Linked DNA regions of Homo sapiens: all the other regions are linked to region 1. The links are contacts of gene promoters, found by promoter capture Hi-C in human tissues and cell types (Jung and others, 2019). All regions are on one chromosome and are shown on one strand. Each heading gives the region's core, a stretch centred on a gene start or on the middle of the fragment in contact. The rest is flanking DNA. Distances are from core to core; before and after follow the strand shown. Region 1 holds the start of SBF2 (SET binding factor 2). Region 2 overlaps SBF2 (SET binding factor 2). Region 3 overlaps SBF2 (SET binding factor 2). Region 4 overlaps SBF2 (SET binding factor 2).

Evidence for each region. Contacts are between HindIII fragments. The study calls those that stand out against the background at their distance.
Region 2: a contact is called between a fragment that was not itself captured here and the fragment with the promoter of SBF2 in region 1, in 1 of the 25 tissues and cell types used here (small bowel).
Region 3: a fragment that was not itself captured here is called in contact with the fragment with the promoter of SBF2 in region 1 in 1 of the 25 tissues and cell types used here (H1 embryonic stem cells).
Region 4: a contact is called between a fragment that was not itself captured here and the fragment with the promoter of SBF2 in region 1, in 1 of the 25 tissues and cell types used here (mesendoderm cells).

Annotation. Positions count from the first base shown.
Region 1 is chr11:10,291,392-10,296,832 of GRCh38, reverse strand. It overlaps SBF2 (SET binding factor 2), which reads left to right and starts at 2,614. Exons shown (of 40, transcript NM_030962.4): 1 at 2,614-2,818. The coding sequence starts at 2,764. RefSeq lists silencers at 2,477-2,526, 2,647-2,926, 2,957-3,036, 3,077-3,216. The HindIII fragment of the contact is 12,564 bases long and covers 1-5,441 here.
Region 2 is chr11:10,049,189-10,054,629 of GRCh38, reverse strand. The region is part of intron 2 of SBF2 (SET binding factor 2); the gene reads left to right. Among named protein-coding and RNA genes, the nearest start is that of SBF2, 240 kb to the left of the region's middle. The HindIII fragment of the contact is 3,945 bases long and covers 584-4,528 here.
Region 3 is chr11:10,097,434-10,102,874 of GRCh38, reverse strand. All of the region lies in intron 2 of SBF2 (SET binding factor 2), which reads left to right. Among named protein-coding and RNA genes, the nearest start is that of SBF2, 190 kb to the left of the region's middle. The HindIII fragment of the contact is 6,094 bases long and covers 241-5,441 here.
Region 4 is chr11:10,116,185-10,121,625 of GRCh38, reverse strand. All of the region lies in intron 2 of SBF2 (SET binding factor 2), which reads left to right. Among named protein-coding and RNA genes, the nearest start is that of SBF2, 180 kb to the left of the region's middle. The HindIII fragment of the contact is 4,654 bases long and covers 143-4,796 here.

The sequences.
Region 1 (5,441 bases), core at 1,365-3,864:
TAGTGCATTGCTGGTGAAAATGTAAAATGATGCAGCCACTGTGGAAAACAGTAGTAACAGAACTACTTAATCCAGTAATTCCAATCCCAAGAATATATCCCCAAAATTGAAAACAGGTACTCAAATACATGTACATGCATGTTTGAAGCAGCACTATTCACAATGCCAAAAGGTGGAAACAACCCATATGTCCATATGGGTTGTTCCAGATAAACAAAATATGGTATATACATATGATATGGTTTGGCTGTGTCCTCACCCAAATTTCATCTTGAATTGTACCCCATAATTCCCACCTGTCATGGGAGGGATCCGGTGGAAGGTAATTGAATCATGGGGGCGGGTCTTTCTCCTGCTGTTGTGGTGATAGTGAATAAGTTTTATGAGATTTGATGGTATAAAGGAGAGTTCTGCATAAGCTCTCTTGTCTGCCGCTTTGCTCTCCTTGCCTTCCGCCATGTGGAACTGTGAGTCAATTAAACCTCTTCTCTTTATAAATTACCTAGTCTCGGGTATGTCTTTATTAGCACCGTGAGAACAGTCTAACACAATATACAATGGAATATTATTGAGTCATAAAAAATAATGAAGTATTGATACTTCAATGTGATGCTACAACCTTGTACTGTATCTGCCCGTAAACAAGCTGAGAACAATATACTAAGTGAGAAAAACCAAGACACAAAAAACCCACATATTGTATGATATGAATATGAAATATTCATAATAGGTAAATCCATAGAGACAGAAAGCAAAATGGTGATTGCCAGGGGCTGTGGGAGGGGAGAATGAGAATGACTGCTTAATGGTTGTGAGGTTTTCTTTTGGGTGATGAAAATGTTTTGTAACTAGATAGACATGGTAGTTGTACAGCATTGGGAATGTACTTAATTGCCACTGAATTCTACATTTTCAAGTGGCTAATTTTACAATATGTGAATTTTGCCCTATTTTTAGAAAAGTTGGGAAGGAATATGATAGCTGCCTTAAAAATCTATCATATGAAGATAGATTTTTTTTTTCTGGATAGTTCCGGAGAGCAGAATCAGGGGAAGTTACAGTAAGACAACTCTGAAATAATAAGGAAGAACTTTCTAACAATAGGGCTGTTAAACAGTGGAATGCGCTGCCTCCCAAGGAAGTAAGATTACTTTTTACTGAAAGTGATCAAGTTGGATGATGAGCTCTCAGGGAAGTTACAGAGAGGATTGCTGCACGGGGTATGACTGAGGTTTTTTTTTTTTTGGTTTAATTATTTTCAGGATCAAACTATCTTCCCTCCACGTTTGCAAATTCAGCTGATTCAGTTTTACCATTAGCAACTGACATAGAGGTCCTGGAGTTAAAGTATTCCTTCAGTTTCAGTTCTAGTGCAGCCCAACCCTCCCAATTTGTAGATGAAACAAGTGTGGCAGAGAAAGGGGAAATAGTAAATTACAGCAGAGTAAATCTTCAGGAGCTGAGATGTCAACTCTCTCAGTTCAGAGTTGGAGCCATTGCGGCTTCCTGCTGGTCGTTGGGGAAAATCGCACATTTACTCATTTAAAATATTTTGTAGGCACCTACTATATACTAGACGCTTTGCTAAGAGGCCTTGTCTTATGTGTAAATATGAAGGATCAAACCCTCAATTAATAGTGAGCAGTGATAAGCAACCACAAAGACAACTTCTAAACCACGGAGATTTCCAAAACTTTGGTCTACCACTTGTACAAATTCTACTAAAACTTCGTGAGATATTAACAAATGACAAAGTGAGTTCACCTGAATGTCACACCAGCCAAATTCGAAATGGTCAATAGGAGGTTCAACAAAAAAGCAAGCGACTTTGATAATCCCGAGACGGAAGGACGGGACCATCTATTCATTTTTGTGCATGTTTGAGCAGGGAAGTTGGAAGTCCACCTGCTCGGGCTGCGAGAGCCCTGGGACCGCTGCGAGGGAAGCAAGCCGAGGCGTGCGGGGCTCCCCAGGGAGAGGCCAGCCCAGTTCGGGAGGATCCCGGGGATGCCGCGTTCCTCGGTGGAATCTGGCTCTCCCGGGCGCTCCGGGGGAAGCCCAGGCCGACCGCCCCCGGCCCACCCGGCATTGAAACCCGAGGCTCCTTGGAGGATTGCGTAAAAGCCTCTCCCTCCCCCGTCTGCTCGGTGGCATGTTTCTAAAATTCCCATCTACACAACATAAACAGGAAACGTGCAGCAAAAGCCCTGTCGATGCAAATTCCTTGCTTCCAACCGAGGGCGGGAGAATTTCATCTTTGGTGGTGGTGGGGAGCAGAGGAAGCAGCCAGCTTTCCAAGTGACCCCTCAACTCTCCACATCCCTTCTTCCAAATCCAAACAGAATAGAGAAGGCGGAAGGAAGGACCCCCTGCTTTAGGAAAAATAGGGAGGCAGAGGGGGCCGTGAAGCAGCATCCAGGCCTCAAAGTGAACCACCTCCAGGGGCCGCGGTGGCGGCGCGTGGCGGGAACACGCCCGACCGCCCACTCCCCCAGCGCAGCAGTCCGCGAGGCCCGCGGAGGGTGGAGGTGGGCTCGCCGCCCGGGCTTGGGGCAGCCGAGCCAGCGCGGGTGGGGGCGGGGGAGGAGCGGGCACTAGGCGCCGCGCAAGCGCAGAGCGCGCCTCGGTTGTCAAACATGGCTGAAGCGCTGCCGCTGCCGCTACTGCCGCTGCAGGGAAAATGCTGAGCCCTCCCGGGCCGGGTGGGCGGCGGCGGCGAGGGCGGCGACGGGGACCCGCTTCCCGAGCGCGGCGGCGGCGGCCATGGCCCGGCTGGCTGACTACTTCATCGTGGTAGGCTATGACCACGAGAAGCCAGGTAAGGGTGTGGGGCGGCACCGCCCCCGGGCCTCCCCGCCCCCCGGCCGCTGTCCAGTGGGCTCCGCGGGGCCGGGCGTCGGGGACGGGCGTCGGGGAGGGCCAGGCCGAGTCTCGGAGGAGCGGGCGGTCGGCGTCCGGCCTTCTCGGCTGGGCTGAGCCTGGCGGTGGGCGTGGGGGGGCCGGCACGACGGTAGGGGGAGGGAAGACGCCGCGTCTGCCCAGCCCCTGGGCGCACCCGCTGGGCGGGCCGGAGGCGAGTTGGGGTCTCGCGACCCTCCCGCTGGAGGCTGCAGGGTACCCGGGGCAGAGAGAGCCCTGAGATTGGGCCCAGGACCGCAAGGCTGGGAGGGCGGGAGCCAACTGTGCTAAGTTCCTCGGGGATAAACTTCTGCCCTGCATCCTGAGTGAGTAACCAGTGACGCAGGGGGTTGTCCTCTCCGAAAGGAAGTGCTGAGAGTCCAGTGCTAACTCACCCCTGTGCTGTTGGGGGCCTAGTGACCTCCCCAAGGAACGCGTGGTACCAGGGAAGGGGACAGGATTCTTTGCACTTTTACCCCTTTCTAGGAAATGCTCCCTATTCTTTCAGGACAAATGTGACGGTCACTTCACAGTGACATGACTTGTCTTTTAACTAAGGACAGCCAGCTGACCGCTGAAGGTGATCTTGTTTCACTTTAATGTGTTTTCATTGTTCTTTTTATTTGTCACAGAATTTTCGTCGTAAGGAACAATTGGGCAAATGCATTGTATTTTACACTTTAATTGACGGACTTCCACAACTTAAGAGAATTCAGGGTTCATGCACGTTTATTTCTGTATTTGTATTCTCTTGTATTACTATGTAGCTAAGCATAATGTAATAACAAATTGAGCTGGGAAACCACTTCTATTTTAGGGCAATTCTAGTCCCACATTTGCAAGGAATTTGAGATATCAGCTCTACAGCCCCTTCATTTTTCAGAGATGCTGAGATTGTGTTTTCCTGATGGTTACAGCCATTGGTAGCTCAGAATACCATTGTTCTACCCACTCTTGGTCCACTCTCTCTTTCATTATTCCTCTCCTAAGAACTTCCTCTCCTTTAGTGGGAACCTTTCATGTTCTTTTCTCTTTCACCAGTCATGACCTGATTGAGGTCAATTGTTAAAGAGAAAGTTTAAATGTTTAAACTTCTGGATCCAAAATTTTATTTCCTAGTAATTTGGCATAGTCTGATGTTTCTTTTCTATCAAGATTAAGTGTGGGAAATCAGTTTTTTAACCTTTAGTTTTTAGTGACATTGTTCCGCCTCCCCCCCTCCCCACTTTTAAACAATTTTTTTTTTTTTTTTTTTTGAGACGGAGTTTTGCTCTGTTGCCCACGCTGGAGTGCAGTGGTGCGATCTTGGCTCACTGCAACCTCTGTCTCCCGGGTTGAAGCAATTCTCTGCCTCAGCCTCCGGAGTAGCTGGGATTTACAGGCGCCCGCCAACACGCCCGCTAATTTTTGTATTTGTAGTAGAGACGGGATTTCACCATCCTGGCCAGGCTGGTCTTGAACTCCTGATCTCGTGATCCACCGGCCTCGGCCTCCCAAAGTGCTGGGATTACAGGCTTGAGCCACCACGCCCGGCCAACAATGTTGAAACAATAACAGACTTGCAAAAAAGTTGCAAGAATGGTACAAAAAATTCTACCCGCCCCCCAACAATTTGAGAGGAAGCTGTTGACCTGATGCCCTGTCATCCCAGAATACTTTAATGTGCATTTTCTGCAAACAAGAATGTTCTCCTACATGATCACAGTGTAATAACCAAAACAGGAAATGGATAGTGATACAGTACTCCATCTAGTTCTCAGACTGGTTCAAGTTTTGTTGATTGTGCTAGTAATCTCTTTACTGGCAAAAGGATCCAGTTTAGCAATATGTGTTGCATTCATGTTATGTCTCTTTTGTCTCCCTCAATCTGGAACATTTCCTTTATCTTCTCCTGACTTTCATGACCTTAACATATTTAACAATTACAGGTCAGTCACTTTGTAGGCTGCCCCCTCAATTTGGGATTGTCTGTTCCTTCATGATTAGATACATACGAATATGCACGTGGGAAGGATATCACAGAAGTGATGCTCACTGCATCCTGTCAGGTGGTGCACAATTTCACTTTGTTTCATTGTTGGTTATTTTTACTTTGATTACTTGATATAAGTAATATCTGCGAGGCTTCTCCACTGTAAAGTTAATACTTAATTGTTTTTGCCATGTACTTTGAAACTATGTAAATATCTTGTTCCTCACTAAACTCTTAATCATTTATTGACATCTACATGGAGTCTGTGTGTGTGTGTGTGTGTGTGTGTGTGTGTGTGTGTGTGTTTAGTGGATTATATTCTGTTACTATTTGCCTTAGTCTATTCGGAAAAAGTCACTAGCCCACCTGCCCGAAGCACTGGCTTGAGTGGGAAATAGGAGAGTCTAAGCACATCCAGCCGAAGTGAGACCAGAAAGGGGAGCTCGCGGATTATATTCTGTTACTATTTGCCTTAGTCCATTCGGGCTGTTATAACAAAAATACCTCAAACTGGGTGGCTTATAAACAATAGAAATTTATTTTTCACAGTCTGGAGGCAGAGAAATCCAAG
Region 2 (5,441 bases), core at 1,307-3,806, 240 kb after region 1:
TATAAGTTGTCTGTTCACTCCGTTGATTATTTCTTTTGTTTTGCAGAAGCTTTTTTAGTTCAATTAGGTCTGCTTCATTTATTTTTGTTTTTGTTGCATTTACTTTCGGGGCCTTAGTCATGAAATTTTTAAATGTAAAGCCTTAATCTGTTCATGAGACTGATATACCAAAATATTCAAAACTTAGAAGTTAGGTTAGCTTATCCTTTGTCTTTGAGAACATATTAAGATTACAAATAGGATCTTTTTTCTAATTGCTTATTGCTGATGTCAAAGAAAACTTTTGATTTGTGTATGTTTGTATATCTGCCTACCTAAGTAAACTCTTACTAGTTGAAACAGTGTTTAGTCAGTTTGTATGTATTCTCTAGGCAGACAATCATATTATCTTACACGTAATGAAAGTTTTATTGTGGTGAGGACAATGCAAATGTTGTATAGTAGTAATAAAATATCTGGATGTAAATTTTTACCAAAAGCAATATAGGTGACCCATTTCAGTTAAGTTTCCATTTTAAGCAAATAATTTTGGATAGTCCCTTTTAAGTATATACTTTATCAAAAGCTGCTTATTAAAATTGGGCCTATATGTGACATGCATTATTCTGTAAAAACAAAATGTTTGAGATGTCACAAACTCTTAAATTGACTTCTCTTCCAAAGTCTTCTGCCCACTATATTTTCTCTGAACTTTTTTTTTTTTTGGTGGAAGAACAGAATCTCACTCTGTCACCCAGGCTCAAGTGCAGTGTCATGATCACAGCTCTCTGCACCCTCAACCTCCCAGGCTCAAGCAATCCTCCTACCCCAGCCTTCTGAGTAGTTGGTACTACAGGTGCATGCCACTACTCTTGGTTAATTTTTTTTTTTTTTTCCGAGACAAGGTCTCACTCTTCACCAAGGCTGAAGTGTGGTGGTGCGATCTCAGCTCATTGCAGCCTCTTATGCCTAGGCTCAAGTGGTCCTCTGGCCTCAGCCTCCCAAATTGCTGGGATTACAGGCATGAGCCACCAGGCTGGGTCTTTTTTCAAACTTTTGAAGAATATCTATATAATGTTCAGAGCACACATCTGACACTGCCCTGGCCTGGCTTGGCACAGACTTCAGTCTCCTAAAGCTTCTGTTACTTTATTCACAAATCAGTTCTTCTTTGGTCAGAATATAGTTTATAATAACAGTTCTTTGTTATCACTTCTTTTCTGTCCTCTTTAGAAATGTATCAGGAAAAACAAAACAATTTTGGGGTTGCTTAACCTTTAAAAAGGAATTCAAGGATAATTAAACATTTTTGTGCTCAACTTGTGCATGCTCTAGAAAACCAGTTCTATTTCCCTGAGAAAATAAAAAGACATATCTGGAAATATTTATATAGTACTATGCTTATTTCAGCATTAATTATAAAAAATTATAAACATCTTAACCAACAATAGGGAATTGGTTATGATATTTTATCTATATCTACATGATGGTATAATATTCAGTTATTAAAAATAATTATGTTAAAAATATATAAATACATGGGAAAATACATGTTATAGGAAGGGGAGAAAAACAGGATTCATAACTATATATACAATATGCCCTCCTTTGGATAAATACACACACACACATACATACATACATGCATACCTTCAGAGATAAATGGTTGCTAGGAAATGTTACATGTTACAAAATTTATTTCACTTTCATTTTATTTCTTAAGTTTTTCTGCCATGTATTTATATTAGCATAAAACAATATGCATAAGGTGATTTATGAAGGTAATTTAGAAGTGAAAGAACACGGTTTATAGAAATGCAGAGACTTGGATTCTAGTCCTGCCAGTGCCACAAACTCTTTATGACCTTAATGTCTAACAGTCTTGGTTTCATTGTTTGTAGAATGAGTCTTGTGAGATATGGTTATATATAAAATATCTTACAAACCTGAGAGATTATTATATTAGCACGTACCTTTTATTTGCAGATGGATGGCCTATTTGCAAGTTATCTACTTCATACATTTGGGCAATTAAACAAACAAGCAAGTAAACAAAGCGGGTGTTTGTAATGCATTAACATATAGAGTTTAGCAATGTCTAACAATTCCAGCCTTGCAAACTTGAAGTATAATTTGCTTATAGGTTATACTAAGTTCTTAAAGAAAACTAGAGATAAACAAAGACAGAAGAACATCCTGAAAAGGATTCCCACATTGCCTGTTCCCAGATACGTTGTTAACATTTTTATGGGCATGGTATGTGTGAAATGGTGAAGTCAAGGTAGAAGGGAGTTGTCAAAAACAAGTCGTTGCTCATACACTCATGCAGGTATCAAAACGGTATTGTGAGATTATGTGGTATGTTTTGCCATTACAAATATATGTGTTTTCTCAGTGACTTGAAAAAAGGAGGGCACAGTGTTAGGTCAGTCTGTTATGACAGTCGATTCTAAACATTTTGGGTTTTGCACCTGTGATAGCTTTTTTTTTTTCCTGTTTGCCTATAAAGACACTGGGGAGAGAAAAATCCTGATTTTTATCCTGTTTGTATAATGCTTATCATCCTGCTTACTATCTTTTAGTGACTACTCTCCAGCTGTCTAAACATTTTCCTCACATTCCTGTCAGAAGTGTGACTTAAACCCAGGTTCAAGAATTGTAATGTCCACATCCTCATTGTTTATTTCTCTAACACATTTTTAGTTAAGAATGGAAAAGACTAAACCAGCTAGCATTGTTATATTTGAAATCCAAATTCTATGAGGAGTACTTCTCATTAAATTGTGAGTTTGTATTCTGATACTCCCAAATCTATTATTGCTTAATCTTATGATACAGTGAATTTGAAAAAGACTCATTTAACTGCAGGTTAGGGTCATTTCTTTTCATCCTTTGAGAAAGAATTTTTGTAAACTGTGTAACATAGACTATGTCTATGTTACTGTATTTTATTTGAGAATATAGAATTCAAAATTTCCTATAAACTATGATTCTAATGGTATTTTTAAATGCACAATATATTTAATGTCATTTACGTGTGAAATAGAGGATCTCATACGTAACCAGTGTCTAGTTAACTATCTTAACAACCTCTTTGTGAAAAATTTAGTAAAAAAAATCTGACCAGGCCAACCATTAATTACTATACTATTTGAGCTGTGGTCACATTAAGCTGAGTTTTGAAGAAGTCTATTGGATTTGAAAATTGATCCTTGGAATTTCCCAAAAGTTTTAAGGGTAATACTTTTTTAATCACAGAATTATTCTTATAGTGTAAACTAACATATTTATGAGGCTATTTAAGTAACTAAGGTGGTCTTACTATCTAAACTCTCACATTCTTTTTCTCGATGTTATATGTTTATTATTTTCTATTAGGAGAAGGAATTTTCTTACAGGCTTTTTAAAAAGAGACACATTTAATTTAAATGTTATACATTAAAACATGGCTCAATAGCTAAACATTTATGGATGCAGATGAAGGTCTTGGGAAATATTGAAACCTATAATATTTCACCTTCAAGAGATCATTCAATTTAATCACAGTGCTATGGACATTTTTGTTATTCTGGTATATTTCTCTTATATTGTCTATATGTGCAAAGCATTTGAGAAAAATGGGCACATTAATAGTTATTTTTTCTAGTTTCAGGCAGCAAAATATCTGACTGCTCATTTAATAGATCTGCTGTAGTTTCCCCCTTACCCATGGTTTTGCTTTCTGTGGTTTTATTTACCCATGGTCAACTGAGGTCCAAAAATATTAAATGGAAAATTCCAGAAACAATTCATTGGTTTTAAATTATGCACCATCTGAGTAGTATGATGAAATCTCACACCATCCCACCTGGGATATGCATCATCCCTTTGTCCAGCTTATCCACACTGTATACACTATGCACCCATTAGTCACTTAGTAGCCATCTTATCTGATTTACCATCAGAAGGTCAATAGTAGCCTATAGCTATGTCACAATGTTTATGTCATTCACCTTTCATCTCATCACAGAGGCATTAAATCATCTCACATTATCATAAGAAGGGCAAGTATAATACAATAATACATTTTGAGAGAGACCCCATTCATATAACTTTTATTATAGTCTAATATCATAATTGTTATATTTTATTATTAGTTATTGTTCATCTCTTACTATGTATAACTTATAAACTAAACATCATTGTTATGTATGTATAGGAAAAAACATAGTACATATAGGGTTCCATATACATACATACATAGTACATACAGGGTTCGGTATTATCCACAGTTTTAGGTAACCACTGTGGGATCTTGAACATATCCTCCATGGATAAGAGGGGACTTATATGCCTATATGTATATGGTTATAAAAAGTTGCATTGTTATTTCTGTTAGGTAACTTCAATTTGAGAAGTCAAATATATTTGGTAGAATTAGAACTAAAATGAAGGGATTTTGTTTGTCCTTATTGAAAACCTGTAGTTTCTTTAAAGATGTGAAAATATGCAGTCATCATTCTCTAGTGTATGTTTTTTAGTACCATTTACCAAGCCTAGTGATTAGCTAATGATATGAATGACAGACTTCTATGAGAATGGGATTATTTGCTGTTAATTCACAGAACTGATTCACTTTTTATCAGAGGGGCAGTTTGTGGTGGTGGTAGAACTGATGATGCAGGCTGTATCGTTACATTATGTTATAACCTAAGCTCACATACTTCCTTCCTGATTCTGAGGCTCATTTTAGAAAATGATGTACCTTATTCACGAAAGAAGTTTGTTGAGAGAAAGTAAAAGGATTTTGAAAGATATTTTTGGCTTTTATTGTAGCCTGATAAAACTTTCCAGTTCTACCAAGGATTATACCGTTCTGCTACCCAAGTAGTTTAAGCCAAGGATAGTTACATGTTAACACCCATTCTCATTAAAATAGCAGTTCCCATACTTTTAGTCTCAGTACCCTTTATACTGTCACAAATTATTGAGAATTCTAAAAGAGTTTTATGTGGTTTTATCAATTCATTTATATATTAGAAATTACAACTAATTTTTTTTTTTAAGATGGAGTCTCTCTCTTGTTGCCCAGGCTGGAGTGCAATAGCGCGATCTTTGCTCACTGCAACATCCGCCTCCCAGGTTCAAGCGATTCTTCTGTCTCAGCCTCCCAAGTAGCTGACATTGCAGATATGTGCCACCACACCCAGCTAATTTTTATATTTTCAGTAGAAGTGGGGTTTCACCATGTTGGCCAGGCTGGTCTCAAACTTCTGACCTCAAGTGATCCACTCACTTCAGCCTCCCAAAGTGCTGGGGTTACAGGCGTGAGCCATCGCACCCAGCCACAACTAAAATAAAATTTTTTTTTAAATTTACCCACTTTTAAATAACAAAATCCCATTCCATGTTAACAAAAATACCATGTTTTTATGAAAAATAACCATCTTTTCCAAAACAAAAAAATACAGAAAAGAGTGATA
Region 3 (5,441 bases), core at 2,038-4,537, 190 kb after region 1:
TTTTATTAGTTTTACCATAAGGTAAGATTTTCATAAACTTTTTAGATCTCTTTATAATTTTCTGTTAAACAGCAGATAAATTTTCTAAGAAAACCCTGTTACTCAGACACATGGGCCCAGACTGTGGCCCCATATCAGTGTGCTTTTATTTTAATGTTCAACCTGCAGAAAAAAATAATACCCTTCAAACCTTAGCCAACTTGCTTATACCCCCAGAACTTTTTTTACAGGATCAACCCTTCACACACCCTTTTCAACCTGCTTAAACTTTCAGTTTTGTCCCATTACTCTTTTAGGTTGAGACAATCTTTAAAACCCTCTGAACTACACAAAATTACATTGTCTTTCACGAAAACCATATCCCCATGCCTTCTTTTGATCTCCCAGCAAAACCATATTCTACTTTTTCCTTCTATACCTTGCAACCTTGTATGTCAAGCTGTTTCTCCAGTAGTCTCAATTACATGTTACAGTGTTTAACTCTTAGCAACTTTTATTTTTGATGAAAAAGCTGATAAATAAGTGATTTTAATTATGTACTAGGTGTGGAGCCTAAGACATCAGACAGAAGTGCAGATGAGGTCTTACTCTTTCCAGCATAGCTGGGGAGCCAGGCTAACTCCACATGTTCCCAGGCCTTATCTAGAATCTAATGCTCCAAATTAGGTAAACTGAACAATTTTCAAAAGTCAAAGAAGCAGTTTATGACTTTAAAGCATTTAGCAAATCTGATACCTGACCTTAATTTAGACCAAATGTCTAAATTTGGAGGACTTTTAATTTTACCAGTAGTCTTTAAAACTGTCTTTATTCCCAGAAAATTACTAAAATCACGTGTCTTCTGGATGGTGGAAACCAAGAGAGAGTATCACCACATGGTCACAAGGTTAAGCTCTTAAGGACATAAAACAAGACAAAGTTTCATCTAGTATTGGTTTCAGGGACCCCTAGCAAAGTTTGTAACTGACCAGCCTGCCAGGCTGGCTTGAAAGGTAGGCTTATAGGGGTCCTAAACCCATGTTCTATCCTGTGATACCTCTCTCTCCATTACAGAACGACACTGAAAGACATTCTTAGCACAAAGCGCACCAGATTTGCTGCAGCCTAAGACTAGTCTCACAAATCCTTTTTTTCTATTAATTAAACCCTTGCAGAGGAGATAAATATTGACATTTACCATGTACACACACACACACACACACACACACACACACAGAGCGAGAGAGAGAGACACACCAGAAACTTTTGACTGGTAAGAATTTCTTACCCTTTTTGCCGGCATACCAGGTTTCCGGGTTCCATTTCACTGCAGCTTCCAGAAAAATGGAGCGGTTTTTGATGACCCTGCTTACTGTGGCATAGCTGTGGGGGTCAAGCCACTTTACAAAAGGAAATCACCCTTTTCTGTTTTATGGAACTATTGGCAAAAGATTCTCAATTTTGCAAGATGCTGCCCAACAGACTGTGTGGGGAACTGAGTTAACATTTTCCATCCCAGCCAAAGCAAAATACATATAACAAAACAGACACTAGTCAACTCATTCAGCACCCAGTATTAAACTGGCAAGGCTCAGCTTTCTCCTGTTGGTCCCTGTTGCCTTTGATTCACTCCAGGCGGGGAGGGATGACCTCCGAATGGTAATTCATTGGGTAGTTGCTGGGTAAGACGAAGAGTGGATAGTCTCCCCGAGTCAGGCCTGTTGAGCTTCCTTCAGGGCTCACCGAATGTGACCAGACAAATAAGGAGGGTTCTCTGAGTTAGGCCTGCTGAACTTGTGCCAGCAATTCCTCCAGAGATTCCCTTCACATAAACAAACACACACACAAAGACACGATAGGCAGAAGGCCTTCCAAATCCAGATCCCTAACCAAGAACTCCGAGAGTATCCTTTCTAAACTATTCTATTTTCCGTCTGAGAAATCTCCCTGAAATCTTCCTGATTTAGATGTCTGCTGAACCAAGACTCCTCCTACTAATTAGGGAGAGCCAACTGAGACCCCCAAAGGGGCTGAACCAAGACAGACACCCTGCAGTGGAGCTACAGACACCTCCACACAAGGCTACAGGAAAACCAAGACCCCTGATGGAGCCAAACCAAGACAGACACCATGCAGTGGGGCTACAGACGGATACTCCACCATGGGGCTACAGAAAAACCAACACCCCTGAAGGATCCAAACTGATCAGGAGAAGGAAGGAGGTGTGGGCAGTACCTAGGATACTCACCAAACCAGATACCTCATAGTGGGGCTACAGCTATAAGCACTCCATGACCAGGCTACAGACATATACCCTGCCATGGAGCTACAGACAGACACCCTGTGGTAGGGCTACAGTTATGGGACGTCTCCCCAGGACTGTTTCTCTATTGCAGTTAAATTCATGCACATTGGATTGGCAGCACCCTGCCAGTAGAGAGATTGCCAGAATCAGCCCCCAGTCCAAGACAACTGTGGCCGCTTGGGCTGGCCTTTGGATCCATCACCAGAGAGGGGGCTACTGAACCACAGGCAGGCAGCCACAAGGGCAATCCCAGACGAGCCTCCAAATTTGTAACTGCCCAACAGGTTCACCCTGCCCGCTGCCTAGGCAGAGCCAATTTATCAAGATGGGTGAATTCCAGTAGAGAAAGAGTAATTAACACAGAGCCAGTTTTGCAGGAGATTGGAGTTTTATAATTACTCAAATCTGTCTCCTTGGTTTCCATTTTTACAAAATGCCTTTTTCCATCCCCTTTTAGCCTATGTGTGTTTATAAAGTTAAAATGAGTCTTTTGTTGGCAGCATATAGTTGGGTCTTGTTTTATTATTGATTCACCCACTTTGTCTTTTTATTGAAGAACTTAGTTTCATTTGCAATTTAAAGTAATTATTGATAGATAAGAACTTAGTATTGCCATTTTTTAAAATTTTTTTCCTGCTGCTTTGTAGGTCCTTTGATTCTTTCTTCCTCTTTTGTGTTTTTCATTGTAACTTTATTTTTTTATAGTGGCATACTTTGATTTCTTTCTATTTGTTGTTTCTCTTTGTTTCTATTAGAGGTGTGTGTGTGTGTTTGGTTTTCATAAGACATATCAAACATTTTATAGTTTTAACAGTCTTTTTTAAACTGATAACATCTTAAATTCCCTCACATACAAAAACTCTGCACTTTTATTCCCCCCACCCCAACAGTTTGTTATCGATGTCACAATGTACAACTTTTTATCTTAATATACTTAACAAATTATTATGGCTATAGTCACTTTAATAGTTGTCTTTAAGCCTTTGTACCAGAGTTAAAAATGATTTGTGTATCATCGTTATAGTGTAATATTCTGACACTGACTATCTACTTACCTTTACCAGTTAGTTTTATACCTTCATGTTTTCAGGTTATTAATTAGAATAGTTTTGTTTCAGGTTAAAGAACCCCCTTTAGCATTTCTTGTAAGGCAGGTTTACTGTTTTTGAACTCCCTTAGCTTTTGTTTGGGAAAGTTTTTAATCTCTCTTTCATTTCTGAAAAACATTTTTGCTAGTTATAGTATTCTTGGTTCACATGGTTTTTTTCAGCCCTTTGAATATATTATCCCTTTCTTCTGGTCCGTAACATTTTTAGGGAGAAGCTTGTGGATAGGCTAATTGGTGTTTCTTTGTCTCTGATGAGTCAGTTTTCTAATGCTCCTTTCAAAGTCTTACTTTGTCTTTAACTTCTGGTAATTTGATTAGCACATGTCTTAGTGTAATTTTCTTTGGATTGGTCTTGATTTTTTGAGCTTCATGAACATGGAAGTCCATATCTCTCTCAAGATTTGGATAGTTTTAAGGCATTATTTATCTAAAGAAGCCTTTTGCTTCTTTCTTTTTGTCTTCTTTTTCTGGGACTTCTATCATGCATATTTTGGTTTGGTTCATTTTGTCCCATAAATCCTTTTTGTCTTCTTTTTCTGAGACTTCTATCATGCATATTTTGGTTTGGTTCATTTTGTCTCATAAATCCTGCAGGCTTTCCTCACTCTTTTTCATTCTTTTTTTTTCTTTTTCTCCTCTGACTGGAAATCAAATGACCTGTTTTTGAGTTTGTAGATTCTTTCTTTTCTTTATCAAGTCTGATATTGAAGTTGGCCGTTACATTTTTATTTCATTTATGGTGTTCTTCAGCTCCAGAATTTCGTGTGTGTGTGTGTGTGTGTGTGTGTGTGTGTGTGTGTGTGCATTTTTTGTCTTTGTTGATTGTATTTTGTTGATATATTGTTTTTCTGGTTGCATCGAGTTGTCTGTGACCTCTTGTAGCTTGTTAAACAATTATTATGAGTTCTTTGTCAGGCAATTCATAGATCTCCATTTCTTTGGTGTTAGTTACTAGAAATTTACTTTGTTTCTTTGGTGGTATCATATTTCTTTGTTTTTTTTTTTTTAATTTTCCTTGAAGCCTTGCCTTGCCATCTTCACATTCAAAGAAGATGTTATCTTCTTTGCTCTGTAGTGACTGGCTTCAGGAGAAAAGACTTCACCAGTCAGCTGAGGTGGGGATTCTGGAGGTCCTTCAGACCTTTTCTGTGGATATAACTACTCTACTTCTTCCCTTTTTCAGGGAAGAAATCTTAGGTTTACATTCCTTCTCTCAATCCTGCAAAGGTAGGTCCATTGTTGAGAGCCTCCTTTAATTTTCTCTACGGTAGTGTCCTGAAATGTTCAGAATCAAACCAAGTCTGTGGATGCTTGTATGTATTGTCTGCAGGGGCACATATAGGGTGCCATGTACAGGAGAGAGGGGTGCATGGTATGTTAGGGGAACATATAGCCTAGTTGGCAGATGGGACCATAGGTGAGATGTTCTTGGGAATACCTCTTGGTGGAGTGTGGGAGGCATTTAGCAGAAACCATGGTGCTTTGTTGCGTTCTGTGCCCTAGTTGTTTTGAGTCCCCACCCTTTTCTCCTGTTTCTAGCTTCTCCTCCGAGTCTTCTGTGTGTTGTCGGTGGGGTGAGAAAGAAGTAGGCCTCTTAGGCAGTGACTCTCAGAGCTGTAGAAGACAGGAACTCACTATGCTTTTACTTTCCTTTGTGAGACAGATCCAAGGCTGATTGGATCTCTCTTGGCACTGGGCTGTGCGGCTTTAGGGGAGGGATGAAGAAATAGCTAAAGTGAAATTGTTCTTACCCTTTTCAATGCATCTATTTATTTAAGCTTTTTTTCTACTGGGGTGTTGGCCATATCTGCTGGACTTTTGGGCTCCCACAAAGCTACTGTCATCTGTGGGTGGTTGACAATATTGTTTCTGCAGGAAGACGATGGCTGAAATTTCCTATTTCTACATCTTGATGCCAAATTTTTGAGGATTTCCTTTCTAATAAGCTTTTTTTAAAGAATGTGTTTTGGAATATTTTAAATTTTGTTAATTTTGTTTCGTGGTCTCTGCCTGAATAGACAGGCACTTGCCTGGAAAGTAATACTGTTT
Region 4 (5,441 bases), core at 1,220-3,719, 180 kb after region 1:
TAAAAATTGTCAGTCTTAGGTGAAATAGGGGATCAGCTGCTAGTCATATGTAAAATTGGTTTCGAGAATACTAGCCCTGCATACCTCTGCCTTGTAGCTAAGTCTTAAGGCTTTATCCCATCCTCCTTACCATGTGGTGGTGGGAGGGGGATATATCTTTCCTTTAACAGTGTTAAGACTTCATACATAAATGTCCCTGGGAGAAATAAAAAATGTTCCTCAAGTCATATTAAATCCTTTCTTAAGAGCAGAATTGGATTGAAAGAATATAGAAAAAGGAGAGATTGGAGAGATTTCAAAGACAGAAGCAGGCTGTCTTAGATGGAAGAAGCAAACCAGTCTTACTTGAAAGTTTTGTCTCTCATCTAATTGTATTTCAACCATTACCTATCTATGCATTATCTTCTGAGTGCTGATCCCGTATTTCTGACTGGATGTTATTATGTGGATGTTTCTTAACATCACTAATCATTAGAGAAATGCAAATTAAAACCACAATGAGATGTCACACCGCACCCATTAGGTTGGATACTATTAAACAAACAAACAAACAAAAAACAGGCGGGGCGTGATGGCTCAAGCCTGTAATCCCAGCACTTTGGGAGGCCGAGGCAGGTAGATAACTTGAGGACAGGAGTTCGAGACCAGCCTTGCCAACGTGGTGGAACCTCGTCTCTACCAAAAATATAAAAAATTAGCCGGGCATGGCTGGGCACGGTAGCTCACGCCTGCTAGCTCCCAGCACTTTGGGAGGCCGAGGCAGGTGGATCACAAGGTCAGGAGTTCGAGACCAGCCTAATCAACATGGTGAAACCCCATCTCTACTAAAAATACAAAAATTAGCTGGGCGTGGTGGCACACGCCTGTAATCCCAGCTACTCAGGAGGCTGAAGCAGGAGAATCGCTTGAACCCGGAGGCGGAGGTTGCAGTGAGCTGAGATCACGCCACTGCACTCCAGCCTGGGTGACAGAGCGAGACTCTGTCTCAAAAAAAACAGAAGAAAAAACAAACAGAAAACAACAAGTGTTACTGAGGATGTGGATTAAATTAGACCCTTTTGCCCTATTAGCAGGAATGTAACATGGTACAGCCATTGTGGGAAACAGTATGAAGGGTCCTTAAAAAATTAAAACTAAAAATTAAAAAAATTATATTTACTGAATGATTCAACAATTCCACTTTTGGGTGTACTTCCAGAAGAACTTCAAGGAGAATTGCAAAGATATTTGCACACCCATATTCATTGCAGCATTATTTACTGCAGCCAAGAAGTAGAAGCAACCCAGATGTCTGTCAGTAGAATAAAGAAAATGTGGTATATACATTCAATAGAATATTATCCAGCCTTAAAAAAGAAGAAAATCCTATTACATGCTATAACATGGATAAACCATGAGAACATTATGCTGTGTGAAACAAGCCAGTCATGAGAAGACACATACTTAATAATTTCATTTATAACAGGTCTCTAAAGTAGTCAAACTCATAGAATCAGGAAGTAGAATGGGATTGCCAGGGGCTAGGGGAAGGGAAAATGGGGAGTTGTTCAGTGGGTATAGAGTTTCAGTTTTGCAGGATGAAAAAGTTCTAGAGATCTGTTGCACAACAGTGTACACATAGTTAACACTACTGAACTATACATTTACCAATGGATGAGATGATAAATTTTATGTTTTTACCATAATTAGAAAATTTAAAATATTGATTCTAAGGCCCGACTGCCAAGATATTCTGATTTATACAATTTGAGATGGAGTCTTGATATTGCAAAATTTAAAAAGCCTCCCAGGTTGATTCCACAGCACAGAGTTGAGAAACACTGAAATAAACATAAAAACATAAGTAATTGTAACCACAAGATATTAGGTAGGTGGTTTTTTTATGACCCTATAAATAATTTTATCCCAGGAGATTAAACATTCTTTGGTTCACATACTGTCGGACTCCAATTTACTAAGCAATTATTTATTAATTTAGCCATCAGAGTTTAAAACAGAGAATCACTTTAATAAATGAAGAAATAATGTGAAAACAGACATGTCAGGTTCTCTTATCAATGACTTTGACCAGTGTATACAAGATAACAGCATATCACTTGGTTAAGAACTTTTGAATCTATTTTTGACCTTGCAGTGGCCTAAGAACAGTTAAATGAACATTTATTTAACTTAAACTTTTGCTTTGGGAGATTAAGTACAGTTCAACTGGAATAGTGTTTGTTGCTTATGCCTTTATTGTTTTTATCTGTATATCTCTTTAATTCTTTTCTGGATTTTTTCAGAAAAATTGTCTCTACTTTATTCTTTATACTAGTATTTACTCATGAGAATCATAAATGGTAAATATAGTCCATGGGAAAAACAAGCGGAACAGGAAGTACTAAGACAAGCTTTGTCATATAAAGTTTTAGAAAACATGGTACAAACTGGAGACTTGGACAAAGTGGCAGACTTAGTAAAATATATTAATTAGTAATGTAACTACCATTTAAATATTCTGAGTATGGAATTTCCACCTTAAATATTTGATCCTATAAAACTGTTTTTTTCAAACATTGTTCTACCCTGAGAATTGCAAAATATCTACTGGCAGGATATGAACTTGGAACAGCAGATTGTTCTTTTTTTAGTAGCCTTTTTCCTGCAGATGTGACTTTAACAGAGGAAGATGCTGAGTGTTTTTTTTTTGTTTGTTTGTTTGTTTAGTTTTGTTTTTTTTTTTTCTTCCAGTACTTCAGGTGATCAGCAGAATAAAGACAATAGTTATTTGCTAAATGAACCTTAGGTAATTTAGAGATAGAGGGTGTATACCATTTAAAAATGTTTGAGATTTTCTAATGTTCTTACTAAATTGCTTATTTTCTTTGAAATTCCTCTAGGGAAATTTTAGAAATTTTAACTCATTCAATTATGTCATCTCTGATTTTGGGGGGAACAGGTACATTACATCTTCTAAAATTGGAGATGGAAAATGGATGGTAGCAATTTTTACATCTGATTATCACATGACATTAGAAAGAGGATATATGGTACAACCAAATATTATTTATTATAGAATTTAAATTCTTTGTAAATATTTTCTGCTTACATATGTTTGAAATGTATACCTCTGACCATATTTTAAAATTTGATACTAAGCCAGAATTAAATTACTTTGGGCAAAATTTGATAAATATTACTTGTAATTTTAAAATAAAGATTAATACCCTGGTGAATTTGACCCAGACTTACATATATGTATGCTTATGGATCTTATTCTGCCTGACACTTGACTTTTTGCGTTTTTTCTTTGTTGTACTTTAGTCCCTGTCGTAATCTGGAATGCAAAAAGAACTTCCAGGAAGGACATAAGTATTACTTTAAAAATGTACAAATAGGAATAGAGTCATCAGTCAGTGACTAAGGATAGCTGAACTCAATTTGCTGATGTTTAAATTGTCTAATGTCCTGTCTTTCAGAGAGAACAACATTTGGCCTTCAAATATCTGGGATTGTGGGTGAGGTGAAAGGAAAGGTGAATTCTAATAATGAATCAAGGCAGGAACTGAAGGAGGCTTTGTTTGTTTCTTTAACTTGTTTTGTAATAAGATCAGTTGTTTCAGTGAATAACCAAGTTGTAGTGACATGAAGAATTGCACGTTGCTTGTGAGATGCAGAATGACATAGAAACTGCCAAGATTCTTTTCATTTATCATGAATTCCAGAGAAAGAACTTTTGACCAAAAGTATCACATTCTTTGTTTTAACAAAAAAACTGAACAGTATTAATTCCTTAGAGAATACAGCATTCCAGCTTTACTTGAAATCCCAAATGGAGTCATATTGCATAAGTATAACCAGAAAAAAAAAAAACCCAACAACATGGAAATAGCACCCAAGAGAGACTCTTAAGGCTGCTTTCCCAAGTTCAAATATATCTTTGTGTCTCTAAGCAAATCCATAATTAATCCTCCCCATCTCCCCTGCTCCCAATAATCACACCTAATTTGTATTTATGTGAACTTACACTTGAAAGTTCATAAACTTTCAGTCTGATCAGGAAAGAGGAATGTCAGTGGATCAACATGCAATAAACAGAAATGTGTAATGGGTCCCATTTGTGATTTTAATTTTTATATTAAGCTAGCTGAAAAGCAAAATAGGACACAGGATTTGATACATATCTTTTTTTTTTTTTTTTTTTTTGAGTTGGATTCTCACTCTGTCGCCCAGGCTGGAGTGCAATGGTGCCATCTTGACTCACTGCAACCCCCACCTCCTGGGTTCAAGCAGTTCTCCTGCCTCAGCCTCCCGAGTAGCTGGGATTGCAGGTGTGCACTACCACACCTGGCTAATTTTTGTATTTTTAGTAGACACGGGGTTTCTCCATGTTGGCCAGGCTGGTCTCGAACTCCTAACCTCAAGTGATTCACCTGCCTCAGCCTCCTGAAGTGCTGGGATTACAGGCGTGAGCCACCACGCCCGGCCTGATACATATCTTTTGTTTTGCTCCTTACTTCATGTATCAGTACTATGAAAGTAAAAGATCACTAACCTGGTTTTTTGACTAGCTTGAAATATTTATCTCTTTGATCTGGGCACTTCACTTAATTACTCTGAGATTTAGTTTTCTATCTTTACAATCTCTTTTCTTTTTAATAGAATTTCCTCTAATGAAAAAGAGAAATGATCAATAATGTTTTCCATATTCAACATAAATTTGGAAAAAGTAATAGTTTTGAAACCAAGAATAGACAAATGCCATGGGTAACTTACATAACAATGTCTCTAGCTATAAATAGGAGCTCAAAATGACGTAGATTAAGACTTGAATGGGCCTGAAGGCTAGGCAGGGTTTTTCCTGCTAGTAAGAGGGTGACACAGGAAGTGAGGACCAAGGCAGAGTTGTAAGCAAGATGGAGACTTACTTAAAGAGACTGATCTGACTAAAGCAGAGAGCTCATGGAGAATTGTGGAGGAAAAAAAAAAGACAATTAAAATTGTATAAACTAATGAAGCCAGGTAATAGAGGGCCTTGCAAGTTGTGTAGGAGTTTATATTTGAATTAGGAAGCAGTGGGAAACCATTATAGATTCTTGAACAGGGAAATAATATGACAAAAGCAATGTTTTAGAAAAATAATATATCAATTATTTTTGAAAAATTTAGAAGAGAGTATCTTGAGTTTTTTCTGATGCATAAATCCTCTCCTGGCATTGTAATTCAGCAACCAGTTCTTAAAGATTTCATGTTTTCCACTGTATTTAATTAAATGCCTTACCTGGTATATGACAGTCAACTTTATATGTATCGTCTTACTTTCTGTTTCAGAACAGTATCACAGTATAATCTTTTTAGAAAACTAGACAACCAGGAATTAAATGAATTAAAATTCAGTCACAATGACATACAAATGCAAATACCTCAACCAAAGTAATATTCAGATAAACAAATATTTTTTT